3 separate regions of the Homo sapiens genome follow, and regions 1 and 2 are each linked to region 3. The links are contacts of gene promoters, found by promoter capture Hi-C in blood cells and fetal thymus (Javierre and others, 2016). All regions are on one chromosome and are shown on one strand. Each heading gives the region's core, a stretch centred on a gene start or on the middle of the fragment in contact. The rest is flanking DNA. Distances are from core to core; before and after follow the strand shown. Region 1 has its middle 12 kb from the start of HPS6. Region 2 overlaps ARMH3 (armadillo like helical domain containing 3). Region 3 holds the start of KCNIP2 (potassium voltage-gated channel interacting protein 2).

Region 1 (4,058 bases), core at 987-3,486, 230 kb after region 3:
CTCCATCTCAAAAAAAAAAAAAAGAGTTGCTTGGGAAGAAGAGATGGAAATGGCTCCAAAGTGGAAGGTTGGAAGTGGATAGCCAGGAAGCATCAAACCAGAAAAGGGGAGTCAGAAAGAGAGCGAGGATCAGGCATGGTGGCTCACGCCTGTAATCCTAACACTTTGGGAGGCCGAGGTGGGTGGATCGCTTGAGGTCAGGAGTTCAAGACCAGCTGGGAAACATAGTAAGACCCCCGTCTCCATAAAAAATACAAAAAATCAGCCAGGCATGGTGGTATGCACCTGTAGTCCCAGCTACTCGGGAGGTTGAGGTAGGAGGATCACTTGGGCCTGGCAGGTTGAGGCTGCACTGAATCGAGATCATGCCACTGCAGCCTGGGTGACAGAGCAGGACCTTGTCAGAAAGAGAGAGAGAGAGAGAGAGGGAGGGAGGAAAGGAGGGAGGGAACACTGGATTTCCTAAACCTCTGTGGCTTCTCTAATAAATGATAGAGTTTCTCTTTGTAGAATGCAGCACCTTCCCAGGTGGCCCCAGAAAACGTTGAAGGGTTGTGGTTTTGTTTTCATGGCAAATCTAACTGGAGCTGGGAATGGGCTCTTGATCCCATGTTTCTCACTCTGTTAGCCTGTTCATCATCCCCTTAATATCAGCAGTCAGACCCACAAGGGGTAGAGACCTCAGTGCTTGGCATGAGGGAACACCAGAAGAGAACTTGAGGTCCATCCATTTTTCTCTTCTGAATAGTGTTTTGGAATCTAAGCTCCAAGGGGTCAAGGAGGCAGGGGACAGCTGAGGAGTCATCAATAAAACAAAAGGTCTGGGAGCAGTGTAATCCTAGCTACCAAGAGGCTAAGGCAGGAGGATCACTTGAGCCCAGGAGTTTGAGGCTGCAGAGAGCTATGATCTTGCTACTCAGCCTGAGTGATAGAGCAAGACCTCATCTATTAAAAAAAAAAAGGCTGGCCGGGAGTGGTGGCTCATGCCTGTAATCCCAGCACTTTGAGAGGCCGAGGCGGGGGGATCACAAGGTCAGGAGATCGACACCATCCTGGCCAACACGGTGAAACCCCATCTCTACTAAAAATACAAAAATTAGCTGGGCGTGGTGGCATGTGCCTGTAATCCCAACTACTTGGGAGGCTGAGGTAGGAGAATCGCTTGAACCTGGAATGAGAGGTTGCAGTGACCAGAGACTATACAACTGCACTCCAGCATGGGCAACAGAATGAGACTCCATCTCAAAAAATAAAATAAAAATAAAAATAAAAAAAGAAAAGAAAAAGAAAACAAAAGAGCAGCAGATCTCAGTCAGTTGCAAGTCTGCCCTGTGCCTCCCAGCTCTGTCGCCCAGCTTCAGTTGCCCATCATACCCTGTCAAGCCCTGGTCACCCCTTTTCTTTCCTCACATCTATCCCAGGTCAGTGCTCATATCCCTGTCTCTCAAAGGGATGGATTCTGAACTTGTGCATATTAATAGTCAAATCCACAGAGTCTATCAGTACACCAAATTTCTTTTTTTTTTTTTTTTTGAGATGGAATCTTGCTGTCACTCAGGCTAGAGTGCAGTGGCGCGATCTCAGCTCACTGCAACCTCCGCCTCCCGGGTTCAAGTGATTCTCCTGCCTCAGCCTCCAAAGTAGCTGGGATTACAGGCGCGCAGCCACCACGCCTGGCTAATTTTTGTATTTTTAGTAGAGACAGGGTTTCTCTATGTTGGCGAGGCTGGTCTCGAACTCCTTACCTCGGGTGATCCACCCTCCTTGGCCTCCCAAAGTGCTGGAATTACAGGGATGAGCCACCACATCTGGCCCCAATTTTTTTTTTTTTAAATGATATGGAGCCTCGCTTTGTCACCAGGCTGGAGTGCAGTGGCGTGATCTTGGCTCACTGCAACCTCCACCTCCTGGGTTCAAGCAATTCCCCTGCCTCAGCCTCCCGAGTAGCTGGAACTACAGGTGTGTGCCACCATACCCGCTAATTTTTTTTGTATTTTAGTATGGATGGGGTTTCACCATGTTGGCCAAGATGGTCTCCATCTCATGACCTTGTGATCCTTCTGCCTTGGCCTCCCAAAGTGCTGGGATTACAGGAGTGAGCCACCATGCCTGGCCAAATTTCTTAAAATTTGAATTCAGCAAATCTTCTGTTTCATCAATTCTGTTGACATCCCAATGTCTTCCAGCTGCGTATTCACAATGATGGGGGCAGATGGTAGAAATGGGATGGTAATGTAAAAGTGGGATCTGGAGCTCAGAAGATACCCCCATCCCATACCTACTACAACATCTGTGCCTTCTTGTTCACTATTTTTGGGGTACCATAGAGAGACTACGGGTCCCCTGATAATATCGCAATTTTCTCTAACCCCAACTCCATGGGACTGATTATAGGAAAAGGGAGATTGGAGGTCAGCCCTACTAAGACCTCCTTGGACTGAGATTCTTTAGTCTTTGTGGCTCTCCTAGAAATATTTCCTTAAGGGGTCTGTTCCCGCATGGGGCTGAGGAAATACAGAGGTGAGAATAACAAATTAGGACCAGGCACGGAGGCTCACGCCTGTAATCCCAGCACTTTGGGAGGCTGAGGCAGGCAGATCACCTGAGGTCAGGAGTTTGAGACCAGCCTGACCAACATGATGAAACCCCCTCTCTACTAAAAATACAAAAATTAGCCAGGTGTGGTGGCGGGTGCCTGTAATCCCAGCTACTTGGGAGGCTGAGCCAGGAGAATCCCTTGAACCCAGGAGGCAGAGATTGCAGTGAGCCGAGATCGCGCCACTGCACTCCAGCCTGGGCGACAGAGCAAGATTCCGTCTCAAGAAAAATAAATAAATAAATAAATAAATAACCAATTGGAAGAAGCTCAAATGCAGTCATGTCTGAGGCAAGGAGGACATGAACAGTTGCCCTGCTTGGTGTCTTCAAGCCAGGACTAAGAGGAGAGGAGAAAGAGCCACACTACTGGCTGCCCTTTCATTCTAGAGACCAGGGCTGGCAGAAGTTTCCTAGATTTCCTAAATTTTCACACCTTCCCCCAGACTAGCGACTTGGTAACCTTGGGTCTCTTTCCCCACAATGATCAACTGTAAAATCCTTCAAAGGAAAAGGTACCATGTAGTTTTCTTTAGGGAGATGTGAACAGGGAGGCAAATAAGTGTGGGGAGAGCTGAGGAGATGGTACCCCCCTCAGCTTCCAATCTAGAGGAATGAGGAGTCCCAGGGATTGAGTAAGTAGACAGTAAGCAGGCTGAGGCTCTTGCAGCTTGTAGGAAGGAAGAAAGAGGGTGCAGATTATCAATTTGGATATTATATGGCTCCCAGTTCAGGAAAAAAATCCCCAGAGTCGTTGGGCACAGTGGCTCATACTTGTAATCTCAGCAGTTTGGGAGGTCGAGGCAGGAAGATCACTTAAGCTCAGGAGTACGAGACCAGCCTGGGCAACATAGTGAGACCTTGTCTCTATGAAAAGTAAAAAAAAATTAGCCGGGCATGGTGGTGCACACCTATAGTCCCAGCTACTCGGGAGGCTGAGGTGGACTGCTTGAGCCCAGGAGGTCAAGGCTACAGTGAGCTGTGATTGCACCACTGTACTCCGGCCTGGGTGACAGGGAGAGACCCTGCCTCAAAAAAAAAGAAAGAAAGAAAAGGGAAGGGGAGGGGAGGGGAGAGGAATCGCCAGAGTGGAAAGAAAAGGAACCCAGCTGAATGGTCTTGTCCTTGTAAGATAGGACAAAACAGTGTTCAGGGAGCTAGCTTGAATTGACAGAAGGATCTTCCTAGGGGTTTAACCCTGATGGCTTCCCCACCCATATTGGGACACCTCCCATCCTAGAGAACAGTCCCATTTTGTTGTTGATCACATGGAGGTTCATTTTCAAAAAGGTATTCAACAATGATACCTGTTCTTTTACATCTGGGAGCTGAGGAAAGTAAAAAAAAAAAAAAAAAAAAAAAAAAAAGATGGACAAGGCTGGGTGCGGTGGCTCACACCTGTAATCTCAGCACTTTGGGAGGCAGGAAAATCACTTGAACCAGGGAGGCAGAGGTTGCAGTGA
Region 2 (4,149 bases), core at 1,490-3,989, 180 kb after region 3:
ATAACACACAATAAAGCAACAACATCATTTCCTTAGGCCCAGAACTTACAAGATTAAATAAAGAAAAGGAGGACCTTTTTCTCAGGCTGGGGTTGCTAAGAAAGAAAAATAGGAAGACTTCAAAATCTAGCTATATTGAGAAAAATGCTTTAGAACAGTTGCACAAGAGAGTAAAGAATTCACTGTTCTACCAAATTAATGAATGTTTGCAGTCTGTCATCCCCATATAAACGTTTAGATTACAAGGAAGCAAATAAAAAAAGGGAAACCTAATGGTTAAATAATTGTATATGTTTCTTTTCTTTTCTTTTCTTTTCTTTTCTTTTTGAGACAGAGTCTCACTCTGTCTGTCAGTCAGGCTGGAAAGCAGGGCATGTTCATAGCACACTGCAACCTCAAACTGCTGGGATCAAGTCATCCTCCCACCTCAGCCTCCTGAATAGCTAGGACCACAGATGTGTGCCACCACACCCAGGTTTTTTTTTCTTTTTCTTTATAGAGACAAGGTCTCGCCATGTTGCCCAGGGTGGTCTCGAACTCCTGGGCTCAAGTGATCCTCAGCCTCCCAAAGAGTTGGCACTGCAGGTGTGAACCACTATGCCTGGCAAGTTTCGTTATTTGGTAAAGAAAGCATAACACTTGATTCAGGCACACTGAATAAATGAAAAAGAAACAGTATCATTACAGGCTATCACTAGCCATATAAACTATCCAACGAAGCTAACTTGCGTCCATCCTGGTCTCCGCTTGGCAATGTAATTGGAATTTATCACTGCACTAAAAGCCAGCTGACAAATCCAAACTAATCAAAAGATGAAACCCTTGTATACTACAATAAAGAGAAGATGAAAAGAAATATTCTACATTAAATGAGGAAGGAGAATAGATGGAGAATAAGGATTTAAGCATGCTGGAAGGCCAAGGTAAGCTGCTTCAGTTCAATTCAATAAATATGTGAGCATCTACTCTGTGCTGAATATTGTGCTTTAAAAGAATATACGAAAAAACTCAGACCATGACCCTTGCTCTCAAGGTGCTTTTAGTCTTATGGGAGAGAAAAACAAGCCAACAGTTTCAATTCAGTGGTTACTATGATGGAAATATACACAGAGGAATGGAATTTGCTCTAAAGTCACCTATTCCAAGACCCCTCAGGAGTGAGTTATATTTTGAAAATTCAATAGGAATTGGGGAGGAAAGGAATTCCAGACAGGTATTAGCATCATCAAAGACACATAAGGAAAGAAATGGCCCTGGTGTGGGGTTGGAATAAAAGTAGTTTGTTTTTAAGGGAGTATAAAGAATGAGGCACAGTGGTGAGATATAAGCCTGGGGAAGTAAATATGGTGCAGATTTTGAAAGTTTTATAAGTCTAACTAGGGAGTTTGGTCTTTATCCTGTTAGTGACAGGAGACTAATGAAGGATTTTAAGCAGGAAAGATGTACACACTAGCGTAAGATATATACACTAATGCCACACAGTTGTGGTGTCAGTGTGGATGATGGATTTAAAGATGGTAAGCTTGTAAGCATGGAGACTAATGAGGACTTCAATTTCCTGAGACAGTTGCCATGTCTTATTTGCCTCTTGTATCCTCAGTGCCTACCACAGTACCTGGCATATAGGGGCCCAACAAATATTTGTCAAAAGAATGAATGGGCTGGGTGCAGTGGCTCATGCCTGTAATCCCAGCACTTTGGGAGGCCAAGGCAGGCAGATCACCTGAGGTTAGGAGTTCGAGACCAGCCTGGCCAACAGGGTGAAACCCTGTCTCTACTACAAATACAAAAATTAGCTGAGTGTGGTGGCGCATGCCTGTAATCCCAGCTACTCAGGTGGCTGAGGCAGGAGAATCGCTTGAACCCAGGACAGGGAGGTTGCAGTGAGCCGAGATTGCACCACTGGACTCCAGCCTAGGTGACAGAGTGAGATTCCGTCTCAAAAAAAAAAAAAAAAAAAGAATGAATGAAGGCATCACTGTAATAGTTCTGGTGAGAGATAGCATAATAGAGATGGTGGTAACAGAAGAAGACAAGTATGAGGAATATGAACTGAGGTAAAATTAGCTGAACTTGGTGATCATCTGGAGATAAAAGATGAGAAGTCCCCTCATCACAGCGTGGGGCCTGTGAAGACAGCTGCTCCCATTCTGAAAGAGAATGAATGAGGAAGAAGAGATGCAGGAGAAACAGTGAGCTCCATTCTGGATATATCAAGCAAGAAGTACTTATGGGATGTGTCAGTGAGTACACTCAGCAAGTACTTGCAGAGGATACAACTCTGAGATCATGAAGAGACATTAAGGCTAAAGACAGACACTTAGCAGTCATCAACATACAAGCAGTAGTTAGAATTATGAGAATGAGGAGCTATCTGGGATTTTACCATGACATATATATGAACTGCAAAAGGCCAGAATTTAAAAATAACTCTAAGTATTAAATATTTGTATATTTATAATTATATATTAATAACTTTTTTTGTAACCTAATCATTATAAAGATTCTCTGGTATACAGATTTATTTTAAATTTAATGAGTGACAGAAGACTGTTCTTCAAAGTTCAAATAACATTCATTCAATATGGTGTCCAACACTGCAAATCATATATCTGATAAGGGACATATTCAGAATACGAAAAGAACTCTTATAACTCAACAAAAAAAGACACCCCCATCTAGAAATGGACAAAGGATATGAAAGACTTTTCTCCAAAAAAAAAAAATAAAGAAAAGACAGACAAAAACAACTGTTGACATAATGTGCAGAAACTTGAACCCTCATACATTGCTAGTGAAATTATAAAATGGAACAGCCCCTATGGAAAAATGGTTTGGTAGTTCCTAAAATGTCAAATATAGAGTTACCATGTGACCCAGCAATTCTACACCTAGGTATATGCCCAAGAGAATTTAAAACATATGTGTGGCCTGAGTGCAGTGGGTCATGCTTATAATCTCAGCACTTTGGAAGGCTGAGGCAGGAGGATCACCTGAGGCCAGGAGTTCAAGACCAGCTGGGTCAACATAGCAAGACCTCATCTCATGAATAAATAAATAAATAAATACGAGCATACATCCATACAGAAACTTATACATGAACATTCATAGCAGCATTATTCCTAATAGCCAAAATGTTGAAAGGACCCAAATACCTATCAACTGAGGAATGGCTAAACAAAATATAGTGAGTATCTCCAGCCAAAGGAATATTATTAGGCAATAAAAAGGAATGAAATACTAATACATCCTATAATATGGAGGAACCACAAAAACATTATGTGAAGTAACTGCCAGACTCAAAAGGCTACATATGATATGATTCCATTTATATGAGGTGTCCAGAACAGCTAAACCCATAGAGACATAAAGCAGATTAATGCTTGCCAAGGGTTGAGAAGAGTGGAGAATTGGGGAATGACTGCTAATGGGTACAGGTTTTCTTTCTAGGGTGATGAAAATGTTCTGAAATTAATAGTGATGATAATTGTATAATTCTATGAATATACTAAAATCCACTGGATTGTACACTTTATTTATTTTCTTCTTTTTGAGACAGGGTCTTGCTCTGTTGCCCAGCCTGGAGTGCAGTGGCATGATCTTGGCTCACTGCAACCTCCACCTCCCAGGTTCAAGCAGTCCTACCACTTCAGCCTCCCCCAACTAGCTGGGACTTACAGGCACGTGCCACCATACGCAGATAATTTTTGTATTTTTTGTGGAGACGAGGTTTTGCCATGTTGCCCACGCTGGTCTCAAACTCCTTAGCTCAAGCAATCCGCCTGCCTTGGCCTCCCAAAGCGCTAGGATTACAGGCATGAGCCATGGCGCCTGGTCAGATTGTACAATCTAAAAGGGTGGATTTATGCTATATGAATTATAAGGCTGTTATTTTAAAAAGATAGTGTCAAACAGCAGAAAGAAAAATTCTGATAAAATCAAAGTAATTGTGTTAAATAAGCTTAAAGTTTAGAATTAAAGTTACCCTTGTATGTTGTTATATTTTATTTAAATTCATAAATGTTCTTAAGAATGTATGATCATATGATACGAGTAATAAAATAAACTATTCTGTCTTTATCCCGCAGGGAAAGAATACCTCCATTCAAATTTGAATTTAAAATTTTCCTTTATTCAGATAAAGCAAAT
Region 3 (3,898 bases), core at 1,360-3,859:
GATGCCCTGAGGTGTAACTTTCCAGCTGCTTCCCTGCAAGCCTGATGGGCCGGGAAGACGGGAGCTGCAGACTACCCTAAATCCGATCCCAGGAATCCCAACTGCAGGGAAGGGGAGGCGAAGCCTGGCGCGCGCTTCAGCACCGCGGACAACGACTCCCCTTCATGCTTCAGCTTAGGCATCTCTCAGCGCTCAGAGCTCAGCGCCGCCCGCCCGCCCGGGAGTCTTCGTTGACACTGGCGTCCCAACCCGATTTGTCTCCCGCTATAAAATAAGCCGCCCTTCGAGAGGAGAGCTCCTGGTAGTCCTATTTCTACTTTCCAAGTCGTGTGTGGAGCTATCTACAGCTAGGCTGCTGTAGACCCGGACCACAATTCTTGATACTTGTCAACATTTGACCTTTCCATTTTCCTTGGGAGGTAGGCAGGCAGGCAGGAAGTAACATTCCCTTTTACAGATGAGAAAGGTGAGGCCAAGAGAACAAAAGTCACATAGCTGGTACACTTCCATTCCTGACTGAACTGGGGCAGGGCATCTCCAAATACAAATGCTTCCCCCACCCAATCTCATTCAAATAGCCAAGTGGGGAAGGGATGGTTTCACTAAGGGTGAGAACCCATTAAAGCTGGAAGCAAACACTGACTAATGTGATACTATTGAAGGCCCCTAGGCCCTTACTACTCTCAAGAATCCTAAGCTGGTGATGGGAACAGAATTCATGGAAGAGCTGGACAGTGGGTCCTTTGGATTCCATCCAGCTCTGAGGCACATCTGGCATGGTCTCTCATCTGGGGCCAGCCTGAGTGGCTCCCCTGATCCTGACTAGGGCCTCCCTAGGGACAGTGATGGGGGATGGGGGAAGACACATGCTCAAGGCACCTCATCCTAGTCCCCTCCCCCTTCCCAGGTCTCAATCTCACTCCCCTCAGGAAGGACAAGGATCATGGCCTCCCTCCACCTCCCCAGCTTTGTTTTGGCCTCAGGGAGACAGCCTCCCTCCTCCCACTCTGCTGGCTTTCTAGAGCAGGCTGCACAATGAGAGACACAAACACATACATGGAAATGTACCCAGGGTGACACAGTCACCTACACAAACACATGGCTCTTCCTACCAAACCCAGGAACATGCACATGCACAGATGTACTGGCCTCACATACCTCCCCATGTGGGAAAGAGAGGATGCCCGGGCAGCCAAGTGGTTTGGTGGACATGCAGGACACCACATGGCACTTCCCAGGCCTAGAGCTTCTAGCTCTGTCTCTGGAGGGGAAGGAAGAGGATGTGTTTTCCTGGGGTTTGAGTGAAGTTCTGAAAGGTTTGTTGGGGGTTGAAGGATTCAGTTGTAAGAATAATCTCAGTACATGATTTGGTGTGGGGAGAGAGGGCTGACCCAGCACTAACTAAAGCCTCCCTACAGGGGCCAGGTGCTGGAGCCATAAGGTCTCTTGGAAACCAGACTGGGCAGCTGAACACTAAAGTCCCTCCTTGGGTCCACCTGGGCTATTTGTGGAAAAATTGGTGAAGGAGTGGGGTGTACTAAAGACCCCTATCTGTACCAGGAAGCCAGAGAGGCAGCAGGGATGAGACACGTCATAGACACTCACAGAGCCCCGCTGCAGACATCACCACATGAAAGTACACAACTAGCACTGAACACTAATCTCACAACCACAAAACACAACACAACCTACTTTAACAAATTCTTGCCCAGAGGGCTTATGGTCATGAAGGCTTACAAAGAGACAAGCCACCCTAAAGTAGAGCCCTGACACATTCTGGTAGTTACACACCACTTCATACAGAATTACACACTCACAACACATCGTTGCACATAGAGACACATGGTCAAAACAACTTCATCAGTACAACCAGGGTCCTACGCAAACTCAAACATCTGACGAGACCATACAATTGCACTGCCACATACAATCACACTCACCCTAGCTGTCACCAAGCCCAGGGCACATGGCAACCAGCTGTGGGAGGTGCGCGCGCACACACACACACACACACAGAATGACAGGTGCTCACGCACGTAACACCTCCCACTCCAGACACCCTCTCAGCCCTGTGTCACATACGCCCACACCTGCTGCCTCTCCACACCTGCCTCTTCTGTTCCTCCCCAACCCCTGCGGGACCCAAGGCTTTGAACCCCCAGTGTCCTGCCGCCCAGACCGGCCATAAGAGTGCCTGGGAATGGGGCAGAGTGTGGGTGCGGGCCAGGCCGGGGTCGGAGAGGCGGAAGGGTCTGGAGGAATGGAATCCACCCTCCCTCCCGCGACCCCCACGTCACTGACTCACCCGTGAGCTGGTCGTAGGAGCCGTCCAGGTCTCGGGAATCGGACAAACTCTCCTTGCGGCCCTGGCCCCGCATGGCCCCCGGCGCCCCGCTCCCGCCCGGGCCGTGGGAGGGGGCGCCGGGTGGCCGGGATAGGGCGCTCACACGGCGCCCCCTGGCGGCCTACTGTGCTGTCGGGGCTGGGGAAGTCCGGGCTGAGGCTGAGTCTGGGAATGGGCCCGGGGTCTGAGGTCTACCCGGAGGTCCTGGAGCAGGAGAGGGAACACTAGGCAGCAGGTGAGCGCAGAGCCGGAGGCAGAGCGGAGCTGAGCGCGGAGCCGAGCCGAGCTGCCTCTCTCCTCCCGCCCCCTCCCCGCGGCTGTCACCGCCTCCTCCCCTCTTTGGCGCTGCCGGGATTGGCTCCCCCTACCCCCGCCCCCCACCCTTTGCAGCCCGGGGGAGGCACCCGGTGAAAGGGTGAACTGCAAAGTGCGGGGAAGGAGACTAGCTCCCCAGCAATCTGCCCCTAAAGCAGAAGTCACGGGGCTTGGCGGGGGGGGGGGGTGGGGGAGGAGGAGAGCGCGGGACAGAAGAGCCCCACTGAGAGGAGGAAACCCCGCCCCCAATTCTCAGGCACCCCGTCCCCCTTCGTCAACACAGTTCTGGCTGAGGCAGAGCCTGGGGTATCATATCTGAGTCCCCGCTCCGTTTGTCTCCATGTCAGCCTGTATTTTCTCTGTTGTTCCTCCTCCCGTGTATGCGTCTCTCGTGGTCCCAGACAGTCCCCACCGTGCTTAAAGCAGGTTAGGGATGCAAAGGAAGAGTCAACCCAGCCTCTAATATTAGCAGGCTCATCGTGGGCCAATGGACTACTGTTTCATCTTCTCTCAAGTTCCAGAAGGACCCCAACTCTCACCCACTCCAGGACCCCGTCTCTGGAACCTATTCACTCTCAGGGTGCCTCCTTCACTGATCTAATGAACCCCATAGGCCGACTAGGAAGATAAAAAAACTAGTGAACCAGGTCAGTTTCTCAAGACATCCTTGCTCTTTTGTTCCTCCCCTGCAGCAACTTTTCTGCCCTTCTCTTTTGTCACCTGTCCTGTCCTAGATTCCTTGTTTTCCAGCAGATATGGGGAGCAACTGACAGGTTTGGGGATCCAAGTCAGGATACAGAGTAGGAAAGAAATGCCCTTGTTATGAAACCCCTTCCTTAAGATTAGCTCCTTTCCAAAGGCAGGGCTAGCACGGAAGCTGGGCTGCCTCATCTCCCAGGAATGGATCCTGAGTGTTTTGAGCGTCACAGGTCTGACCTTCCTCAGGATGCTTCCTGGGCTCCACACCCAAAAGCCCCCCAACCCGTTGCTATGAGGATGAGGGGACCTTGTCTGGTGGGTCCAAAGGAGTGACCTGTTAAGACCAAAAACTTTAAAGTGACTCAAGCACACTTAATCTCTTCAATTGGCTTTAATTTCCAACCACTTGATTTAATCAACCCAGCAGGAATTGTGGCGGGAGTTCAGGCCTAAGAGGGGGACAAGTGGCTGAGGGTAAGATTGTCTTTAGGAGCAATGCCCTGCGCTTGGATCTCCCTTGGCTCTGGAGGAGGCTCCACA

What was found. Contacts are between HindIII fragments. The CHiCAGO score rates a contact against its expected background, and 5 or more counts as called.
Region 1: a fragment that was not itself captured here is called in contact with the fragment with the promoter of KCNIP2 in region 3 in 12 of 17 cell types (naive B cells, total B cells, fetal thymus and 9 more); the score reaches 18.4 in naive B cells.
Region 2: a fragment that was not itself captured here is called in contact with the fragment with the promoter of KCNIP2 in region 3 in 5 of 17 cell types (naive B cells, total B cells, endothelial precursors and 2 more); the score reaches 9.9 in naive B cells.

Annotation. Positions count from the first base shown.
Region 1 is chr10:102,075,143-102,079,200 of GRCh38, forward strand. No RefSeq gene overlaps it. Among named protein-coding and RNA genes, the nearest start is that of HPS6, 12 kb to the left of the region's middle. The HindIII fragment of the contact is 7,564 bases long and covers 1-4,058 here.
Region 2 is chr10:102,025,338-102,029,486 of GRCh38, forward strand. All of the region lies in intron 5 of ARMH3 (armadillo like helical domain containing 3), which reads right to left. Among named protein-coding and RNA genes, the nearest start is that of ARMH3, 29 kb to the right of the region's middle. The HindIII fragment of the contact is 2,439 bases long and covers 1,521-3,959 here.
Region 3 is chr10:101,841,191-101,845,088 of GRCh38, forward strand. It overlaps KCNIP2 (potassium voltage-gated channel interacting protein 2), which reads right to left and starts at 2,610. Exons shown (of 10, transcript NM_173191.3): 1 at 2,306-2,610. The coding sequence starts at 2,378. RefSeq lists an enhancer at 2,122-2,627 and a silencer at 2,583-2,832. The HindIII fragment of the contact is 15,452 bases long and covers 1-3,898 here.